Linked DNA regions of Homo sapiens: all the other regions are linked to region 2. Evidence: promoter capture Hi-C in 16 types of primary human blood cells and fetal thymus (Javierre and others, 2016). All regions are on one chromosome and are shown on one strand. Each heading gives the region's core, a stretch centred on a gene start or on the middle of the fragment in contact. The rest is flanking DNA. Distances are from core to core; before and after follow the strand shown. Region 1 overlaps CASK (calcium/calmodulin dependent serine protein kinase). Region 2 holds the start of NYX (nyctalopin). Region 3 overlaps CASK (calcium/calmodulin dependent serine protein kinase).

Region 1 (4,897 bases), core at 994-3,493, 260 kb before region 2:
TAATCTTACTGGTTTGCCATTTAGCATGTTCAATTAATATTGCTACAAGGGTGTTTTACAATACAAGGTAAGAGAAACATTCCCCAGTCAGACACAATATCCCCATAATACAGTCAAGTGAAAGAGATACAACCACTTCATGTAAAGTGTGTTCAAATGTACCAACTTACCTTAATTTTCTCAATGCTTACTTTCCTAACTGTAGCCTCTATTACGACTTTACCAACAGGTTTTGAGTTTACAGTACTAGGTAGGGGAAGTGTTCCCCACCCAGACATAATATCCAGTTCCATCAAACATTCAGGTAAAGGAGACATAACTTCTTTACATAAAGCCTGTTTATAAACATTCTAAATCTCGTATTCCTACCAACCCTTACTTTCTGTCCCAGTCCCAGAATTTCTCTTCTTCACTCCCAGACCATTTTACCATTTTCTCCTTAGAAAAAAGCTTTGAATCCCCAGCAGAGGGTTGAGCCAAGGGACCTTAGCCCTTTTGTCAATCTTTGTCTTGATTAACCTGCCTCAACACTGCTCCAAGTAATTGTTGGTCAGCTTTCTCATTGTAATCTCTTCCTCTCATTTTTTCAATTTCTCCTAACTGGGATAAATACACCAAACCTGTTTGGATCCTCTTACCGTTAGGAGAACAGCAGAATCTCCCTACCAACCTTCTATAGTGATGACCTTTGTTTTAACCCCATCGATTTCCACTTTATTCATCCCATTTTTTAATAGCCCTCTAAAGACTCTACCCTGCTTAGATGAGTCCCATGACTCTCCTTTCTTTTTCCTCTTAGTTTCACCCCATCAATGTTTTCTTCATTCACCTTATTTCTCAATAACCATTTAGACTTTCCACCTTCCTGGGATGAGTCCTGTGACTCTCCCCTCTGCCTTTCCCCAGTCTCTTGTTAATTACGCTCATGTTTTCATTGGTGCCCATACAAAAGAGGCTCCCTTAGCCATAGCATTTACTACAGCCAGAGTAATGGATGTATTCAGTGAGTGAATATCTCAGTCATCATAAAGCCAGTCCCACATGGTCTACATAGGAAGCAAATGAGCTGCTGCTTCAGGGTACACCACTTGGCATTTATAGGTGAAATTGGACAGTCCCCTTCTCAGGGTAAACAGGTCCAGTCCACCACGCTGGCCATTCCCTTGGAAATAACCTCCTGTGTGTCTGGAAATCTACCTTTCCATCTGTGATTGTTCAATAATGAACTGCAGGTCCTACCTCAACCAAACATGCTCTTCCACTCTTGAGCATTTAAAACCAAAGAAACTGCTCTGACAGTTCCTTCACAGTATACCCTCCAGTTTCAATAGTTTATCAGTTTTACCCTTTCCCCACATTGACTACCCTTCTTGATAACCACAGGTTGTGTAACTGTCCAGTGGGTTCATCTTGCCCGCTGTCTAGACAGAGCTGATTTATCAATACAGGGAAATTGCAATAGAAAAAAAGTAATTCACGCAGAACCAGCCGTGCAGGAGAGCGGAGTTTTATTATTACTCACATCAGTCTCCCAGAAGACTCGGGGATCAGAGATTTTAAGGATAATTTGGTGGGTAGTGGGCTGTGAATCAGGAGTGCTGATTGGTTGGCTCTGGAATGAAATCATAGGGAGTCAAAGCTGTCCTCTCATGCTGATTCAGTTCCTGGGTAGGGGGCCACAGAACTGGTTGGCAGGTCCAGGTGGGGCCATCCAGTTGTTAGAAATGCAAATACCTGAAAAGATATCTCAAAAGGCCAATCTTAGGTTCACGATAGTGATGTAAGTTGCAAATCTTATGACCTCCAGAATAATGGCTGGTAACATTTAGAATTCCAGCCCCTCTCATCCGTACTTGGTGGCTGGTGGCCTTTCATTCGTTTTACAAGAACAGTTTAGCTTTTGGGAAGGGCTATTATTTAAACTATAAATTAAATTCCTTCCCAAGGCTAGTTTGGCCTATGCCCAGTAATGGACAAGGACAGTTTAGAGGTTAGAAGCAAGATGGAGTTGGTTAGGTCTGATATTTTTCACTGTCATAATTTCCTTAGTTACAGTTTTGCAAAGGCAGTTTCAATCGTAAAGGTACTTCAGTGTCCTTGCATAATTTTTCCTTGGGGGTCAGCTTTGAGGCTAGTGGCCTGGGCTCAGACAGACAAAGTCTAACCTAGCATTCTCCTTTAATTTCATTTAGCTATTAGAGATAAACACCAAAGAATTTAGTATTTCACTTTTTCATATTAGTCTGCATACCCTCATGCAACCAGTGAACCAACTCCCCGGGAGTTGCATCCATCTCTGAATTCCACCAGTAACTTTTACCTTTAGTAGCTGATTGCAGCACAGCTGCAGCTCAAAACAGTGGGAAACCACATGGCCACCCAGGAATCAAAGATTCCTCATCTCCCACCTTTTTGACGCAGGATTTTTCTTGGCCACTTTGCCAATCAGGGACCTCCATGGCCAGCAACGCCCCCCTACCTGGCCTTTGCTTGGCCATGGGCCTGCTGAGGCGTCAGGCCCACTCACCCCACCTGTGCTATGGCTTGTACCTGCGTTCAGCAGTTCCCAAGCTCCTGTCCTTATCCACGAAGAATGAGGATACGCTGACAATTTGAAGGGTGAGGATGGGTAGGGAAGAATTTTATTGAGCAGCAGAACAGCTTTCAGCAGAGAGGGGACACGGGTGGCCCCCCCACCCCTGCAGTCGGGTGGTTTGTCTCTCTCAGTGTGGCTGGGTCCATGGTATTTTATGGATTCAGAATGGGGCATGTGTGCTGATTGGTTTGTGAGTATGCAGAAAAGGTTAAAGCGAAGACACCACTCAAAGGTGGGCACAACAGTGTAGAAAACCAATTAGGGAAGGGTAGGTATATGTAAAATAGGTGAGGGGCGGGGATCAATCAGAGGAAAGCACACCAAACAGGAAGACAGGTTCTCAATCCAGTCCATGGATTTACCCGGGACATGTAGGTAGGCTTTAAACTGTCTTCAGCTTGAAGGTCAATTTCACTGAGGACTCGCCCCTATCTGTCTAGGCATTTTGTCTGCCTCCTGCTGCTGTCACTTTCATTCTTTCTCTTCCCAAACCACATGTTTCTGTGAGCCAAGTCCATTCTAGCAAACCCTACCTCACTGAAACCAATTCATAGTTTGGAAGGAAAACAAAACTCACAAAGTACTTTTCTACTCTTTCAACAACAATTAACACAGATGATTTCTGTGACCAAATGTGTGGGGATTTCTCCCCAACCAACAAGCAAGCAAGCAATTCTGCAGTTGACACCAGCTAGGTGTCCTCTAATTCAGTTATGTTCTGACACTATGTACCTAGAGATAGCATCAGATTCCACAGGTTGAGGGCTTAGTCCCCAAGACTGGCCCCCACCTTTAGATGCCAATGGCTAGCCCCAGGCTGTGTCACCTATGCTTCTGACTGACTAGCTATAAATCAGGGATCCCACGGCTCCCTCTTTGGGCCCAATTAATTTGCTAGAGCGCCTCACAGAACTCAGGGAACCAGTTACATATACCCGTTTATTATAAAGGATACAGATGAAAAGATGCATAATCCTGGGGCACGGAGCTTTCCTGTCCTCTCTGGACAGAGGCACCACCATCTGGGAAACTCCACAAGTTCAGCTATCCAGAAACTCTCCGAACACTGTCCTTTTGCGGTTTTATGGAGGCTTCATTATGTAGGCATGATTGGTTAAACGATTGGCCATTGGAGATTAATTTAACCTTCAGCCCCTCTCCCCTCCTTGGAGGTTGGGGATGGGGCTTAATGTCCCAACCCTCTAATCCTGCCTAGTCTTTCAAGGCTACCAGCCTCATCCTGAAACTACCTAAGGGTTCCAGCCATCAGTCAACCATTAGCATACAAAAAGACATCATTCTGGAGTTTCTAAGGATTTTAGCAGTTGTATGCCTGGAAAGAGGGTTGAAGACCAAATATATATTTTATAGTATCACAGACCTGATCATCAAAGTTTCACTATCCTTCAGCTTTGGCTTTTGGCTTTTCATATAAGCTTGAGTGTGCTGGCTAAACATTGTCTTTTAGGAATGCACAGCATAGAAACTCTAGCGACTTCAGTGGCAGTCATAAGAACTGGAATCATTTCAGGGGTGGTAGTTGAAAAGCAGACAGGAAATTAGCAGGTTTAGAATAGGGGAGAAACTTTAGCATTGAATTACGTGAGGCAAAAATATATTTGAGGGACAAATTTTGAATTTTGACATCTTCAAATCAGTCAAACTTGGTTCATATTATGCTTCAGAACTAACCATTCTTTTCTGTAGATTCTTTAAAAAGCCAAAAGTAGATAAAGATTTCTATGAATAAAGCAGTTGAGGATAGAATTCCAAAAATAATGCTGTTCCATTGTATCACCCCAGGTACAAAACACACACACACACACACACACACACACACACACACACACACACACACACAAAATCTATACCCTGGGAAACAGTGACTTGGATTGCAGTGAGATTTAGCGAATTTAAAAGGCATCATATATCAGTGCCCAGAATTCTCCACTTCACTGTCTCTTTCTAGGGCCAAGGTTTCCTGGCCATTTTATTACCAATCACTTCTTTTGAATTTCTAGATACAATTGTCTTAAGGTGAAGTCCCCTGCTCCATGTAACTTCCTGTCCTTAATCAAGGGGAAAAAAAGAGATAGATGTCAAGGGAAGAGAAAGAAGAATTGAATATCTCATGTCTTCCCTCCTATACCCATTAGTGTCTGTATTCATTTTCTCTTAAGCGCCCCAAGCATGAAAGTCACAGGTTTCTCTGAGAACCACATTTAGAAAATTAATAATAATAAGTGACAGCCACTGATCTGCTTTTATATATATATTCATATAATTTTAGAAATATCTCTG
Region 2 (5,042 bases), core at 403-2,902:
TAACTTCAATATCCATAATCCTATAATTCCAAGGCATTTTTCATTTTTTCTTTTTCCTTTAGGAAGGTGGTTTTTTAAAGGGACTTTTGTTTTTAACTAAATGAGCTTAAAATAATGTGATTAGAAACCACTGTAGGCTGGGCACGGTGGTTCATGCCTGCAATCCCAGCACTTTGGGAGGCCGAGACAGGCAGATCACCTGAGGTCAGGAGTTCAAGACCAGCCTGGGCAATATGGCGAAACCCCGTCTTTACTAACAATACAAAAAATTAGCTGGGCGTGGTGGCAGGTGCCTATAGTTCCAGCTACTCAGGAGGCTGAGGCACGAGAATCACTTGAACCCGGGAGGCGGAGGTTGCAGTGAGCCAAGATCCATGCCACTGCTCCCCAGCTTGGGCGAGAGTGAGACTCTGTCTCAAAAAAAAAAAAAAAGAAAAGAAAAGAAAAGAAAAAACCACCGTACGGTGGCTCACGCCTGTAATCCCAGCACTTTGGGAGGCCGAGGCGGGCAGATCACGAGGTCAGGAGATCGAGACCATCCTGGCTAACATGGTGAAACCCCGTCTCTACTAAAAATACAAAAAATTAGCCAGGCGTGGTGGCGGGCACCTGTACTCCCAGCTACTCGGGAGGCTGAGGCAGGAGAATGGCGTGAACCCGGGAGGCGGAGCTTGCAGTGTGCCGAGGTCGCACCACTGTACTCCAGCCTGGGTGACAGAGCGAGACTCCATCTCCAAAAACAAAACAAAACAAAAAAACACTGTAGCACTGTAGCTTTTGGTTATCACACCAATGAATTCATATCTGAAATTAGAATAAGAAAATCACCAAGAGGACTATTTCATATATTCGGCTCAGGAGTTTTGTTTTTAGGAAACAAAAATCCCCACCACCTGCTGTTTTCTTGCTTTCTCTATCCCCTCCCCCACGATCACAGGGTCAGTGAAACCTGATCAGAAGTGTCCAGATACCGCTGTCCCAGAAGCCACTTTAAAGACTCTTTGGGCAGAAGCTCTGTGGCTTCCACCCCTCTTCCCAACCCTTGCACCCACCGGCAGGAGAACTCACCATGCAGAAGCAGGACCAACATCCCTCGGCCTTTCATCCACCCAGTGGCTTAGGACCACCCAGCCGTGGGACCCCTACCTGAGGGGAGAAAGGACAGGTCACCCAGTGCCCAGGAGGGCCCCATGAGAACCCTCCCATGCCTCCACACTTCTTCCTGAATGCCCTGCCTTTCTTTCTTCCTCACATTCCTTCCTTCTTAATGACCCTGGTGTTGGGCTAAGGGAAACCAGTAACAACAGAAAATCAGAAGCTCCCCACAAATGGACAGTTTGGATCTATTAGGAAACCCTTTGTCAGGCTACAGCCCTGACAGCAACTCAGATGGCATCACTGACAACCCAGCAAGGAAATGGATGGAGAGGAAACCCCTGCAGAGAAGCGTTAGTGAATGGTCCTCAAATGTTGCTTACCGTCCTGGGAGTCTCCCTGGTCCTGCTCCTCTGAGGTCCCCCTCCACTCCCTCAGCCCATCCATCTCCCAAGTCAGGCAGCCACAGATGCTGAAAATGGTTTGAGAGAGAAGTAAAGGTGGGGGTGGGGGGACGGGAGGAAGGGGTGAAGAGGAATAGTTACTTGTGCAGGTTTGAGTGCTTATTTTTCTTTCTCCAGATTTAATGGCAGGAAAATCCTCTGTATCACATGAGGATTAACAGAGATGAAAGAATGTGTCTGCCTTTCGAATCACTAAAGCCAGTGACAGATTTTGCTGACATACCAATCGGCTTTATCCCCGGGCCTTGACCACCCTGGCCCTCCTGTCCTCTCTCCATCTGCCTGGCCCCTTTCTCTCCTTAAACCTTCCCCAGACCCTGCCCCGTTCCCTGACCCCAGCCCCAGCCCCAAGCAATATGTAGCCTGAAATTGGCTTCCTGCCACCCAAACAGCATTATCAGCATTTTCAACAAGGACGCATTATATAACTTGGAGAGCTGGAGAAGGGACAGGACAGCTTAAAATGTTTCCCCAAAATGCCGGCTGCTGATTTCCTTTCTTTGAAGTGGTTGATGGTGAATGATACAAAAACGGACTGGAGAGAGTCCTTCCACTACAAGAAGGCAAGAGGTTCCCACTGGGGTTAGGGCTGGTAGTGGTGGCCTAAGGCAGTGGGTCCAGGAATGGGACCTTCAGAATCTGGCTGAGGTTTCTGAAACCCACCAGGACTCAGTTTAGGCCCTGGCTACTCAGTGTGGCCGGTGGACCAGCAGCAGTACCTGAGAGCTCGTTAGGAAAACAGAATCTCAGCGCCTTCTACCCCCCGCCCCAGACCTGTTGAATCAGCATCTGCTTTTTTTTTTTTTTTTTTTTTTTTGAGATGGAGTCTCACTCTGTCGCCCAGGCTGGAGTGCAGTGGCACAATCTTGGCTCACTGCAACCTCCACCTTCTGGGTTCAAGCGATTCCCCTGCCTCAGCTTCCTGAGTAGCTGGGACTACACCATGCCCAGCTAATTTTTTGTATTTTTAGTAGAGACGGGGTTTCACCATGTTGACCAGGATGGTCTTGATCTCTTGACCTTGTGATCCACCCGCCTCGGCCTCCCAGAGTGCTGGGATTACAGGCGTGAACCACCGCGCCCGGCCAGCATCTGCATTTTAACTAGGTCGGCGGAGAGGGGGATTCCTGTGCCCGGTAAAGTTTGGAAAGCCCTGTTTTAGGAGACTGGTGGAGGGGGTCTGATCAAAATGAGGGTGGCAGGGGGGCCTGTTTATCTAGCCTTTCTGGCCAGCAGTTCAGGTGCCCCCACATTCTCCTGGCCCCAGCAAGCCTCTGCTGTCTGCTGGGACAGCACTTCCAGGTATCCATGGCAACCTGCCAAGTTCTGGCCACGCAGGACTTGGTGAGCCAGTGCTGATGAAAGGAAGCCAGGAGTTCCCTTCCCACAGAAAGGGTTCTGGATGTGAATCTAGACATCTCAGGCCACCGTGCCCTGGGGAATTTTTGTTTTCTTCCATTTGAGCCTTGAAAGCCAAAATGTGGCTGAACTTGTCTAACCTGCTGGAAAGAAGAGAATACTAGGGATGGGGTAGGGATGTGGGTGGGGGAGGCCTCTCAAATGACATCTCTATCCCCAGTGTTGGACTCGCCTGGCTTATTAGATGAGAGCAGTGGGCAGCCCTCTCATTGTGACCACCAGTGTCGGAGGTGTCCCTGTAGCCATCACCCCAAGCCTTAGCCCAACGAAGCCCCCACTCCCCCAGCAGCAGTCCAGAGGCTGAATCTCGACTGTAAGAGCCAACCTGTCTGCACCCACAACCTTTGTTCGCAGCTTATTGGTCCAACCTTCCCTTCAATCTTCTCCAGGCCAGTGGGCCTGGTGCTCTGGCACTGGGATCCCACTAAGGAAGACCTTCTTCTCCACCTGTGAACTGAAACATTTCTCCCAAGTGGAAAATAAGGAGGCATCAGAGACTCTTGGCATAAAAAGGAAGGAGCCCATCCACCAGGTGAGCTGGTACCACCGACTTGGGAGGATGAGCAGCCCTTAATCAAAACCTTGCTGCAGGGAGAAAAGCAGGTGGCCCAGGGTTGTTACAGGAAATGCGATTGACTGACTTCCCCTGGGAGAAACTTAAAGCTCAAGACAGGAGAAAGGCCGGCCCTTTCAGAGCCTACTCCAGCCACTCGTGGGCTGCTGGGGGAGGGATTTTTTCGTTTTTGTTTTTGAGATGGAGCCTTACTCTGTCCCTCAGGCTGGAGTGCAGTGGCGTGATCTCAGCCCACTGCAACCTCTGCCTCCCGGGTTCAAGCAATTCTCCTGCCTCAGCCTCCTGAGTAGCTGGGACTACAGGTGAGTACCACCACACCCGGCTAATTTTTTTTGTATTTTTAGTAAAGATGAGGTTTCACCATGCTAGCCAGTTTGGTCTCGAACTCCCGACATCAAATGATCCACTGGCCTCAGCCTCCCAAAATGTTGGTATTACAGGCGTGAGCCACTGTACCTGGCCCTCCTGGGGTGGTTTTGTACCCATGCTAGTTCTCACTCATCATGCAGTTGGTAGCCCATAAAAGGAGCTGAAGGAGGGAGAAGGGGTGTGTAAGTGACCTTGAGAAATAGTGATGGCCCAAGATGCATGATTTTGCCAGCCTCCACCTCCTGGATTCAAGCCATTCTCCTGCCTCAGCCTCCCAAGTAGCTGGAACTACAGGCGCCGGCCACCATGCCTGGCTAATTTTTGTGTTTTTAGCAGAGATGGGGTTTCGCCGTTTTGGCCAGGCTTCCCCACCTTGGAATTGGTAAGAATTACCGATTAATTAAGACAGCCGGCGACTACTGGAGGCTTTGCCTGCTATCTGGAGGACACAGATTTGCCCTCCAGCCTTTCTGCCCTGTAGTGACAATTCACAGACACCCCAACCCTGGGTAGCCCTTCCTGGGCCTTTGCTTTGCTCCTTTCTTTCCCCACTTCTCCACCTGCTGAAATCTCAATCTGCCTGCTATGCTTAGCATAAGCGCTACCACCTCTAAGAAATGAATCCCCTTCCAGTGCCCTCCTTTCTCACTTGCAGGCATCTGCCTCGAAGTTCACAGTGTTTGTTTGTTTGTTTGTTTGTTTGTTTGTTTGTTTGTTTTGAAACTGAGTCTCGCTCTGCTGCCCAGGCTGGAGTGCAGTGGTGCGCTATCGGCTCACAGCAACCTCCGCCTCCCGGGTTCAAACAATTCTCCTGCCTCAGCCTCCGGAGTAGCTGGGATTACAGGCACGCGCCACCATGTCCGGTTAATTTTTGTATTTTTAGTAGAGATGGGGTTTCACCATATTGTCCAGGCTGGCCTCAAACTCCTGACCTCAAGTGATCCGCCCACCTCGGCCTCCCAAAGTGCTGGGATTACAGGCGTGAGCCACCACGCCAGGCCTGAGCCACTGCGCCCAAAGTTCATAGTGTTTGGATGGCTGGCCTCCTTGGAGGGGCTGTGCTTGATCCAAGTCTGCACTCCCACAATGTCTGGCTGGTGTCGCCTTCAGACAGGGCAAGA
Region 3 (4,961 bases), core at 1,663-4,162, 310 kb before region 2:
TCATGTAACTGGTCCTTCTATCCTCTACAAATAGTAGATGTTTAATGATTGAATACTGAATGAAACATAATCCCCCCACAAATACGGAGTAGTTTAGATGGGGAAAGGGTGAAAAAGATTATGCGTACATGACTCCTTTCTTTCAGAAATGAATTCGCCACCAACAAATATTTGTATATATTCATCAATATGTGGGATAGTATGCTGAAGACAAAATACCTGTTTATGCTCTCTATTTGTCTATAGACAATTGTACAGACCAGAAGGCACCTACCCATGAAATAAATAATAGTAACTGCCAGGTGCAGTGGCTCACGCCTGTAATCCCAACACTTCGGGAGGTTGAGGTGGGAGGATCACTTGAGACCAGCCTGGGCAATATAACAAGATTCCATCTCTACAAAAAAATTTAAAACTTAGCCAGACATGGTAGCACTACTTGTGAGGCTGAGGCAGGAGAATCACTTGAGCCTGGGACTTCAAGGTTACAGTGAGCTATGATTGTACCACTGCACTTCAGCCTGGGTGACAGAGCAAGACTGCCATTCATTGACTTATAAATAAATACATACGTACACACAAACAAACAACTTGTAGTGTAGGTCTAAATGACCGTAGAGAGGTACAGATTGTTAGGGCCTCATAAGTTCATTGGAAGAAACAGTTAGGAGCTAGAATAGGCAGACAGGCTTATAGGAAGTTGATAAAGGGCATCAGCACCAGTGTAGGAGTCAGATGGGTGGAAAGGTGAAGAAAGGACATCCCAGGCAGGAGCATAAAGAATGCAAAAGTGTTGGGAAAAGATGGTAGTTATGGGACATTTGTGAAGACATCAAAACAGTACCACAAACAAAGCCCTGAATTAGAAAAAAAACAGAATTAAAGATTTTTTTAAAAAAGACTGATTTGTGTATGCAAGGATTACAGCATTTATCAACAAACTTACTAAATATAGACAATTCATTTAAATTATATCAATAATATAGTATTCATATGTATCATCTGGAAAGATGGGGACATAGGCTCTGTATTTTAAAAATCCCCCTATATGGTTCTGGAACATGGGGCCCCCATAATAGGCATGAAAATGGATTTCACATATGGAGCCTTTCTTTACATTATGATTTTACCTACTTAGTTGTAATCTCTTGTCTTCCATTAAGTAACTGAAAGCCTGGAGCAGAAGTGAGGAAGTTTCCCTCTTTGTAACCTGAGCATTTTGTGGAGGATAATGCATGGACTGTAAGTCAGCTTGCCTGAGTTAGAATCCAGGCTCTACCCCTTACAAGCTGTGTGATCTCTTGGTCAAGTTACTTAACTTTTGCTGTTTCTCAGTTTTCTCGTAAGTAAAATAGGGGAGGTAGTCATAATACCTATGTCGTAGACTTCTCGTGTAAACATTGAATGAGTTAATGCATATAAGGGACTTAGAAAATACCTTTCACGTAGTAAGCACTCAATAAATGCTAGCTTTAATTATTTATTACAGCAAAATAAGGTTACTTCTGTCTTTGAACTGTATATAAAATAAACCAAGCAGTTTAGGTTTGGCTACATCTGCTTCACTCAGTATTTTGTCTTCAGGATTCAGCCATATTCCTTTGTGTAGCTGTAATTAATTTCCTTTCATTGCTATATAGTATTCTATACCCATTTTATCTATTCTACTATTGATGGACATTGGGTTGTTCACAGTTTGTGACCATTGTGAACAATGCTGCTATAAACATTCAGGTACACATATCCTGGTCCACATAAGCACACATTTCTTTGAAGAGACTGTGTTTGCCCAGTATCCTCCTTTGTCATAAATCAAGCCTCTATGTATGTATGGTTATGTTTCTAGGCTCTCTGTTATGTTCTACTGTGCTGTTGTCTGTCCTAGTGTCAATATCATACACTTAATTACTGAGCTTTGTAGGACATTCCATACATAGTACCTGTGGACATGGAGGTGGGGGCTAAATTTTGAAATCAAGTACAGCAAAAACTCCAAGAGGTGTTATTCTTCCAGAATATCTTGAGTCTTCTTGGCCTTCTGCAATTCCATATACATTTTAGATTCTGCTTTAGAGTTTCCACAAAACCTGTTGGGATTTTCATTCAAATTCTGTTGAATCTATGCTTCAACTTGGAAGACATCGGCTGTTTACAATATTGAGTCTTCTTGTCAGTGAACAGGATAATTTTCTCTCCATTTATTTCATTTGTTTAATTTCTCTTAAAAAAATCATACTTTTCTCCACAGAGATCTTATATACCTTTCTTTTAGATTTATTTCTACATTCTTAAAGAAACACTCTTTTAAAATTTCATATAACTTACAATGATTTTGCTGAACTCTGCTTAGTTCTAATTTTAACTTAGATTATTTTGGATATTCTATATATACCATCTGTAATTAGTGACTGTTTCTTCCTTTTCTATTCTCATACATTTTATTTCTTTATCTTGCCTTACTGCCCTGGCTAGGACCTCCAGAATAATATTGAGTTTAAATTGTTAGAGTGGACTTTCTTGGCTTGTTCCTGATCTAAGAGTTTTTTAAGTTTTTTAATCACAAATACATAGTTTTAAGTGTTTTGACATTTATTGACCTGACCACATAATCTTTCATCTTTAATCTATCAGTGTACACAATTATATTAATTCCAAATGTTAAAAGTTTTGCATTCCTCGGGTAAACTCAATTTGGACCTGGTGTAATTCTTATATATTGCCTGTTTGGGGTTGTTAAACTTTTGTTTAGGTTACTTGCATCTATGTTCTTTAGTGAGGTTGTCTTTTAATTGTCTCATACTGTCCACAGTAGGTTTTAGTATATGGATTAAACTATTTTCATAAAGTGAGTTGGAAACTATTCCTGCTTTTTATTCTTTTATTTCTCCTTAGAATGTTCAATAGAACTTGTCAGAAATGGGCTGGGTGCAGTGGCTAACACCTGTAATCCCAGCACTTTGGGAGGCCGAGGCAGGCAGATCACGAGGTCAAGAAATCAAGACCATCCTGGCCAACATGGTGAAACCCCATCTCTACTAAAAATACAAAAATTAGCTGGGTGTGGTGGTGCACTCCTGTAGTCCCAGCTATTCAGGAGGCTGAGGCAGGAGAATCTCTTGAACGCGGGAGGTGGAGGTTGCAGTGAGCCGAGATGGCACCACTGCACTCCTGCCTGGTGACAGAGCGAGACTCCATCTCAAAAAAAAAAAAAAAAAAACTTGTCAGAAATGGCATCTAGGCCTAGAGTTTTCTGTCTCAGAAGATTAAATTACTGATTCAGTTTCTTGAATCAGTAAAGGATTATTCAAGTTTTCTAATTCTTTTTGTTAATTTTGGTGAGTTTTATTTTTCTGAGAATTTGTCGGTTTCATATACATTTTTAAATTTGTGACATAAAGTTTCAGTATCATCTTTTATTTCTGCAGCATATGAAATGATATCTCCTTCATTGTTAATACTGGGTGCTATATGTGTCTTTTCTCTTTTCTTTTTGTTATCAGTCTTGCCAGAGATTCATCATTTCACAGGGAACAACTTTTAGCTTTGTTAATTTCTTGAATATGTTTGTCTTCCATTTCATTAATTTCTGCTTCTATTTCCTTTCATCTAATTTCTTTGAATTTAATTTGATGATCTTTATGTAACTTATACAGGTAGATGTTTAGTTCTTAAATGTTTAGCCCTTCTCTTTTTTTGAGTCAGGGTCTCACTGTGTTGTCCAGGCTGGAGTGTAGTGGTGCAGTCATGGCTCACTGCAGCCTTGACCTTCCAGGCTCAAGCAATTTGGCCGTCTCAGCCTCCTGAGTAGCTGAGACAACAGGCCCCTCCATGCCCAGCTAATATTTTTATTATTATTATTTGAAGAGATGGGGGTCTCACTATATTGCCCAGGCTGGTCTCGAACTCCTGGGCTCAAGTGATCCTCCCACCTCAGCCTCCCAGAGTGCTGGGATTACAGGTGTGAGGCACTGCACTTGGCCAGCCTTTCTTTTCTAATATGTACATTTATAGCAGTAAATTTCCCTCTAAGTACTGCTTTACCTACATTTTACAAGTTTTGATGTGTTTACTGTTATTATTATTCAGTTTAAAATATTTTCTAATGATTTATTCTGAGATACATGTAATAAAAGTATATTGTCTAGTTTCCAAATGTTAGGAATTTTCTAGATTTATTAATTGCTTTAAAATTTATTTATTTACTTTTTTAGAGATGAGGTCTTGCTCCATAGCCCAGGTTGGAGTGCAGTGGTGCCATTATAGCTCACTGCAGCCTCAAACTCCTGGATTCAATCAAGCCTTCCACCTCTGCCTCTGGAGTATCTGGGACTACAGGCATGTGCTGCCATGCCCAGCTAATTTTTAAATTTTTAGTAGAGAAGGAGTCTCACTGTGTTGCCCAGGCTGATATCGAACTCCTGGCCTCAAATGATCCTCTCACCTTGGCCTCCCAAAGTGCTGGGATTATAGGCATGAGCCATTGCACCTGGCCTTTATTAATCATTTCAGAGAATCTATTTGTTGCTTTGCTTTTTCTCTATTTTGTCTCTTTACTTCATTAATTTCTGCTTATTATTTCCTTCTACCTTCATTGGGTTTAATTTGCTGTTTTTTAAAACATGTCTCATGATGAGATGTCACTGACTTGGTAACTTTTCATATTTTCTAATATTTTAAGTCAGCATTCACAATATTTCTATTAAATTTCTAATTAAAGTTTTAAAACAAGTTTATGGATACAAACTACTTTGTAAGTACCATTTCATCTGCATTCTGCTTTTTTTTTTTAACAGAACTGATTTCCTATGACAAAAGTATAGTGCCTATTCATTTTTTTAAAAGTAAAGGTAAAAAGAAGAAAACAAAAAATTTCAAATAGAATTCTACCCAGTCTTTAACACCCCATTTTAATAGCAAAGGCTTCACACTGCATCTACTTATACATAAATATGCATATATAT

The links. Contacts are between HindIII fragments. The CHiCAGO score rates a contact against its expected background, and 5 or more counts as called.
Region 1: a contact is called between a fragment that was not itself captured here and the fragment with the promoter of NYX in region 2, in 1 of 17 cell types (neutrophils). The highest score is 6.0, in neutrophils.
Region 3: a fragment that was not itself captured here is called in contact with the fragment with the promoter of NYX in region 2 in 1 of 17 cell types (neutrophils); the score reaches 7.1 in neutrophils.

The regions. Positions count from the first base shown.
Region 1 is chrX:41,709,642-41,714,538 of GRCh38, reverse strand. The region is part of intron 5 of CASK (calcium/calmodulin dependent serine protein kinase); the gene reads left to right. Among named protein-coding and RNA genes, the nearest start is that of GPR82, 12 kb to the left of the region's middle. RefSeq lists enhancers at 2,027-2,527, 2,528-3,028. The HindIII fragment of the contact is 3,582 bases long and covers 453-4,034 here.
Region 2 is chrX:41,443,953-41,448,994 of GRCh38, reverse strand. It overlaps NYX (nyctalopin), which reads right to left and starts at 1,652. Exons shown (of 3, transcript NM_001378477.3): 1 at 1,479-1,652; 2 at 1,069-1,146. The coding sequence starts at 1,090. RefSeq lists enhancers at 3,527-3,576, 3,697-3,766, 3,917-3,986. The HindIII fragment of the contact is 20,707 bases long and covers 1-5,042 here.
Region 3 is chrX:41,753,135-41,758,095 of GRCh38, reverse strand. All of the region lies in intron 3 of CASK (calcium/calmodulin dependent serine protein kinase), which reads left to right. Among named protein-coding and RNA genes, the nearest start is that of GPR82, 31 kb to the right of the region's middle. The HindIII fragment of the contact is 7,541 bases long and covers 1-4,961 here.